Regions from separate parts of the Homo sapiens genome. Here region 2 is linked to region 1. The links are contacts of gene promoters, found by promoter capture Hi-C in human tissues and cell types (Jung and others, 2019). All regions are on one chromosome and are shown on one strand. Each heading gives the region's core, a stretch centred on a gene start or on the middle of the fragment in contact. The rest is flanking DNA. Distances are from core to core; before and after follow the strand shown. Region 1 holds the start of SLC26A3 (solute carrier family 26 member 3). Region 2 overlaps LOC105375444 (a long non-coding RNA gene).

Region 1 (3,532 bases), core at 616-3,115:
TTGTTCTGTGGTAGATTCATTCTAGGTACTGGGCATACAGCAGTGAATTCGCCAAAGTCCCTGCCTGTGTGGGGCTTTCATTCTAATGAGAAAGCCAAACATTAGCCAAGTAAATAATTGTGTATTTTTAAATTATGATGCTATGTTTTAAAAAGTACATGCAAATTAACCAAGGGACTTAAAAAAATACTCTGAGAGAATGCCACAAGAGGGGCTAATTGAGATTAGGAAGTCAAAGTGGTTCTCCTTGAGAAAGTGATGTTGAAGCTAAGTAACAGCCAAACCGAGAGAGAGAGAGAAGTGCATTTAAGCAGAGAAAATGATGTCTGCAAAGAGTGGGCAAATTTGGGACTACAGGAGGCCACCATGGTGGGAGTGGAGAAAACAAAAGTAAGAGCAGAGTCAGATGAGGTTGGAGAGTTGTGCAGGGGGAGATCATGCAAAGACTTTGGAGGCCTGTTTTCCCTCTGTGTAATCATCAGCCCCACAAAGAGGACTAGTGTGAAAAGATCATTCTGATTAATGAGTGGTAAAGAGATGGGGAGGGCTGCGAGAGGAAGCAAGAAGTGCAGCAAAGGTAAGAGTGAAGATGAAGAAAAGTGATGGCTTTGGGATGTATTTTGGAGGCATGCTCAATAGGGTTTAAGGATGGATTGGCTGCGGGTGGGGAGAAGGTCTGCAAGAAGAAGTGTCAGAGATGGTTCCCAGGTCTCTGACATGAGTAAAGGGGAATATTCTTTACTGAAATGGGGAAGACTAGAGATGGAGCAGATTTGGGAGGAAAGATCAAGAGGTCTTAATCTCGATATGTGTCGTGTTTGAGATGCCTATGAGGCATCCAAGCAAAGATGTGGAATAGGCAGTTAAATATGTGGACCTAGAGAGCTGGGGTTAGAAATCTGAATGTTGCTGGGAGCCATAGGACTCTTATTTAGGGTAAGAGGGTAGCAAGAGAGGAGAAGGAAATTCAGAACAGAATCTTAGGAAATGCCAAAGAAAGAGTTAGAGGAGAAATTGGCAAAAAGGATGAGGTGAAAAACAAGTGTGTTAAAAATTTTTTTTTAGCATTTCAAGAAGAGAAGATTTTAGCCCGGCATGATGGCTGAGGCCTCTAATCCCAGCTACTCAGGAGGTTAAAGCAGGAGGATCACTTCAGGCCAGGAGTTTGAGACCAGCCCGGGCAACACAGCAATACCCCATCTCTAAAATTAACTAATTAGTTAAATAATTTTTAAAATAAAAAGAGGAGTTCATGAAAGTGTAGTCAGCAATGCCAAATGCTTTTAAGTAAGATGAGAGTTGAAAGTATTCATTGTGTTTAGCAACATAGGGTTTATTGCTCTTAGGAAGAGCTGTGGTGGGGGCAGAAATTGGAATGCAGATATGGCCTGTGGCTGGGAGTTGGGTGAGTGTTCCTAATGAGGGCCTTTATCATACCAGGAGTTAACCTATACACCACACTTCTGCAGCCCATGACAGATTCCATGGAGTCATCCAGCCAAAAAACACCACCACTAAACTCTCATCTAAACAGGTTGGTGAAATGTCAAGGAGATAACCCTTGAGAAGATTCTTTTTTTTTTTAAGTACACGTGAGCATCTGCTGTGCAATCTCTGCAAACCAATGAAATTACGTACACACAAGTGCATTAAACCACCCACTGGTGGTTTAATCTCACAAGGAACTTGAGGAAGCAATCTTCATCATCACTTCTGCTGATCAAAGTCTCAAAGGTCAAGACCACATTGCAGTCTTTTCATTGTTGTAAAAGTTAATGAGAGTTAATTATTAAAGCTGACAGAAAGGTAATTTGTCCACTGTCTTACATAGCCTATATATAGACATCCCTATGCATATGGATGCACACAGAGCCTGTAGACCTGAGTGGATGGACACTGCCTCTTAGAACTAGAACTTAGAACTTTATCTTGAAAATGTACCACTGTTGCAGAAGCTCCTCACAGAGTATGTGTCAGGTAGGAACCAAATTTATGATTGTTATATTCAAACTGGTTTTCTGTTCCTTGAAAATGGTATTTTTTCTGATCAAAGCCTATTTAGGAGTTATTATGTTCTTGAGTTTATTCCATGTGTGTGAATATTTTGAATGAATCCACTAATAAGATATGCATGTATGTCTGGAGCGCTAGCAATGTAGAATAAATATTTAAGTAGACTTTAACAAGTAAATGGTTGTAGGCATCATTAAGTCTTAAATAGCCTTTTCAAAGATATTAGTGTTCTTGTTTTAATTATTCAGATAATTCCTTTAATTCTCCACTCAAATCTGACTTTATAGATAGATTGTCTGCTCTGAGGGTTGGCAAAAAAAAAAAAAAAAAAAGCAAGCTTTAAGGAAAGAGTTTCTCCAGGAGAGAGAATCACCTACTAGAAAGGATTCAGAAAGGCCATCTGGTCCCAGCCAGGCATAGGGATATGTATCTATAGTCCTAGCTACTCAAGAGGCTAAAGCAGGAGGATAGCTTAGCCCAAGAGTTTGAGGTCAGCCTAGGCAACATGGCAAGACCTTGTCTCTTAAAAAAAAAGGGAGGGGGTAGGGGACATATGGTCTAGAAGTGAGAGATTTATCTGCTAGACATCCTAGAAAGTCCAAGACTAAGGGAAACACGGAGAGAAGAAAAGGCAATGAGAGTAAGAAGGATAGAGACTGGAAAGAGAAGAGAGATGGGGAGAAAATGGTCACTGGAAAGTAGCAGAATGCCCTATGCCACAAGTAGTATAATATAATATAATACATTAGTAATGTATGGGTACTTATCCCATACATTACTAACTCTATCAAGATAAAATCTATTTTATTCTTTAAAATGTCAGGAAAAGATTATACAACTTTCTTTATATATGCAAGTGAGGAACAATTTATCAAATTATTGGACTAAATAATTCTCTTTTCTGAAGTAAGTTAGTCATTTGGAAAAACTGTGTCATGAAATTTGACTGCATAAAGATCATTCCTTTTTTTTTTTTTTTTTCTGAGACGGATTCTCACTCTGTCGCCCAGGCTGGAGTGCAGTGGCACAATCTCTGCTCACTGCAACCTCTGCCTCCCAGGTTCAAGTGATTATCCTGCCTCAGCCCCCCAAGTAGCTGATACTACAGGCACGCTCCACTGTGCCTGGCATTTTTTTTTTTTTTTTTTTGTATTTTCAGTAGAGACGGGGTTTCGCCATGTTGGCCAGGCTGGTCTCGAACTCCTGACCTCAGGTGATCCTCCCACCTCAGTCTCCCAAAGTGCTAGGATTACAGGCATGTGCCACCCCATCCGGCCAAGGATTATTCCTAATGAAAATTTAGGAAGCAACTAATTTGATTTCAGAAACAAGAAAAATGGGGTAACACAATACATACTTTGCCTTCTCCCTCTGGATAAGGGAATAAGTAAGTATATAAAGAAATGAACAAATGTTTAATACCTCCTAAACAGCTCATATTCGACTAAGAAACAAAATCGTTCAGAAAATGAGAATGAATATTTTTCAATTACAAGAATAAATATGTAATAACACAGTC
Region 2 (3,532 bases), core at 366-2,865, 53 kb before region 1:
ACTCATTGCCATGGTTGTACCTGGTCAAGGTCACACCCCAGCCACACTTCTGAGCCATTTGGCTTAGAAATGGGAAACATTATAAAGTTGAGTCAGGAATATGGCAAACCTCCAACCAGAGTAAACTATTTAAAAAATTCACATTTTCTTGTGGCCTTCAGTTTTTTCTCCTTGACATCCTCTGTTCTATCAAGACATTAAGTCCCATGGCCCATGCAAAAGACACTTGGTGCTGTGTTCTGAGATTATCATTTTGATCTACATCTGACTACCATTTTTCCAGCCAAGACCAGCCTTCCTTGTAAATAAAGATCTGTTCAGAGGATATGAAAGAATACATATTCAAGGAGTGCTCTATTCCTTTAGCTGTTCAAAGGATTTGAGGACTTTGTTTGTTTTGAAACAAGTAACCGGCTTTCTCTAACCACGTAACCTCAACCTCACAGGACAGCCAGCAGGAAGTCAGAAATGAAGAACAGCCGATGACCTGGGTGCACTCTCTGGGTGCAGCCTGCTGTTGTCCTGTCCCCACCCTTGTCCTGTTTTTCACTTGTCTTGTTGTTTTTAAGAAAAATTTTTGTCTGCTCTGAGGATCTTCTGCTGATCTCAGGTTTTTCTTTCAGGTAATACATATGACAGGTGCTGGACAGAGCTGAACTGGAACAAGGGTCTGCAGCCATTCACAGAGGGCATGTCAATCTGTGTTCACTCAGGCAGGAGGCAGGAACATGCAGGATGGGAATGGGAAAGTAAACAGGAGTGGCCATGGACTCCTGGCCTCTTCTCTCCATGAGGTTTTCTCACCGAGAGCCTGCTCCAGGGAAGGTGGTTGGCCAAGGCCTGGGGAGCAGCTTTGTGAGGCCTAGGAAGACCCCAGAAGAGGACTTTGCTGAGAAGAGAGCAGACAAGAAGTCAGGAGTGGGGTGAGAGCAGCTTCTCCCTCTCCTTCGCACACTTGTACATAGGCATTCTCCCTCTATTTCCAGCTCCTGCACCCAAGCTATAAAAACAAGTATGGCCTACTGTAAGGCATTCCACAATAAAGACCTCATTCCTTCTGAAAACTTTTCACACTATAAGAAGCTTCTTCTGAAAGGCAAGCGCAGTCACTAGCAACTAACACTGTAGCCACTGCTATTCATCTTTCTAGGTATTAAATAACATCTATTTGAGGGCAAGAGCGGAACACAAGAGACATATCCAGAAGGAGAAAAGAGAGAGAAAATGAAAAGGGAATTAATTGGTGAAGTGGGATGTACCAATTTTTCCTCAGGGTTGCCTGTATTCAAAATACAAAAATACTCTGTGAGTATGAAAGTATTCAAAAATATTCGGTGAGCAATTTTCAGTGTACATTATTTATCAAATAAGCATTTTTTTCTGCACCTTGGCACATAATAGGTGCTCAATAAAAGTTATTGTTATTACTGGTATTAGTACTGTTGCTGTAATGCTATTACTGCATGCCATGTTAACATACTGTTCTGGGTTCTAGGGATAGAGAGGGGCAAAACCTAGTCTGTGTCCTCAAGAACTTACAGCCCAGAAGGGGGACAAGTGAGTTAGTGGCAGGTCCTGACACAGTGTTAATAAATGCTGTGATTAATGTCAGCATTAATAATATGACTAATGCTATTAATGTCAGCATAAACGCTGAGCCAGAATGGACCAGACTTTTATGGGAGTCTATAGGAGAAACACTGGCTAGGAGTGGGGCAGGGATGAGCACTGCTTTCCAAGAAAATAGTCACTGAGAGGAGTCTCAAAAGACAAATAGAAACTGGCCAGGTATATCAAAGGCTTTCTTTTTGTTAAGAAACAGGGTCTTGTTCTGCAGCCTCAAACTCCTGGGCTCAAGTGATCCTCCTGCCTCAGCCTCCCTAGTAGCTTTGACTACAGGCATGCACCATCATGCCCAGCTGTTTTTTGGTAGAGATGGGGTCTGCTATGTTGTCCAGGCTGATCTTGAATTCCTGGCCTCAAGGGATCCTTCCACCTTGGCCTTCCAAAGGTGCTGGGATTACAGGCATGAGCCACTGTGCCCAGCCAGTCAGAGTCTTCATTGCAAGTGACAGAAACAGACTGGCCATTTTAAGCAGAGAATGTATAGAGAGACTATCAGATGATCATACAATTTCTAGGAAACATGGAGAACAAGATTTGGGAAAGTGGTGCCAGTGAGGTGAGGATGCCATTGGTGGTGTGGCATCACAGACTGGCTGCTGGAAATCACATGCTGCTGCCCCCCTCACTCCTGCCAACCACCACGGCCAAAGGGAGTCTTCCTTGCCCTGCTTGTTTGTATCATTACTTCCAGATTCAATATTGCTAATAGGTGCAGCTGATGGACCAAGCCAAGGCTATCTCCCCACATCTTATCTGCCAAGGTAGCGGCAGATTGAGTGCTGGGTCTTTTCAACTTCTGTAAAGGAAGACAAGCACTGTCTCCCAACAAGGCTCACAAGTGAGGAATGTCCTCACACATTTGGAGAGGATCCAGAGGACATGAGTCAACACGTGCCAAAGACTCTCCACCACGTGAAGCAGGGAGGAAAGGGTCTAGTGGAGAGGGAACATGACCTGGGGGTGTTGGGGGTAAGACACAGCATAATGGAGGATGAGGACAATAACTCACTTTGACTGGAGCATGGATTATGAGAGGGAGATAACTGAAGAGGAAGCTGGAAAGGTAGAGAGTCTAGACCAAAGAAAAGCCTTGTATATTCTGTGCCTGACGAGGAGTTTGGTCTCTATTTTGTGAAAGAAGACATAGCGATTTATATTTAGGGCTTTGGAGGGGAATAGAGGTGGGGTAGGGGTTGGCAAGGAAGATCAGAGTTTCGAAATTTGAGACGTGCACTCACAAGTCTTCCCAGAGAACATCTTCTCTGTAGTTCTAGGTCAAGGACATTTATTTAGCTTTTGTCATCATCTTGCCAACCATGGCTTTCCATTCTGCCTTTTTGCATCATAAGTTAACTTCACCTTCCCCAGATTGCATCTATCACACAGGCTGATTTTGGGCTATGCATTGTTCTTGTATTTGAGGGATATGTAGACACAGGTGGAAACTGGCCAGGATTGCAAGAACTGGTTTGTTTAGAGCCAACACAAACACCCAGCTACATCTATATTTTCACAATAGTATGTACACTGCACTAAGACACAGAGGCAAATTGTGAAAAGCATATATCCTCTTGTGATCTTAATTCATTGGGAAAAAGTACAATATAGAGATGTCTGCAGGTGTCACAGAGTAAAGTGGAGGCGTAACAACAATCCAGTTAGTGGGGGGCTGTTGTTCTGATAGGAATTTGTAGGCTAGAATGGGAATTTAGTAGAAAACTAGTTTCCCATCTCCTGGAGAGTCAAAGCTGTCTCCTTTCAGGCCAGGAGAAAACACAAGGATGAATAACATCTGGGGAGGCGATGCTCTGGGTGAGGCACCAGGAGTTGGTGCAATCACAGACGTTGTCTGCAGCACTTGTGTGAAAAGGCAAAGAGGAAACCCATTTCCATCTTCATCAGGGGC

Evidence for each region. Contacts are between HindIII fragments. The study calls those that stand out against the background at their distance.
Region 2: a contact is called between a fragment that was not itself captured here and the fragment with the promoter of SLC26A3 in region 1, in 1 of the 25 tissues and cell types used here (neural progenitor cells).

What each region holds. Positions count from the first base shown.
Region 1 is chr7:107,801,556-107,805,087 of GRCh38, reverse strand. It overlaps SLC26A3 (solute carrier family 26 member 3), which reads left to right and starts at 1,865. Exons shown (of 21, transcript NM_000111.3): 1 at 1,865-1,977. The HindIII fragment of the contact is 6,982 bases long and covers 1-3,532 here.
Region 2 is chr7:107,854,208-107,857,739 of GRCh38, reverse strand. LOC105375444 (a long non-coding RNA gene) reads left to right here. Exons shown (of 3, transcript XR_927850.3): 3 at 624-1,261. Among named protein-coding and RNA genes, the nearest start is that of DLD, 35 kb to the left of the region's middle. The HindIII fragment of the contact is 4,620 bases long and covers 1-3,532 here.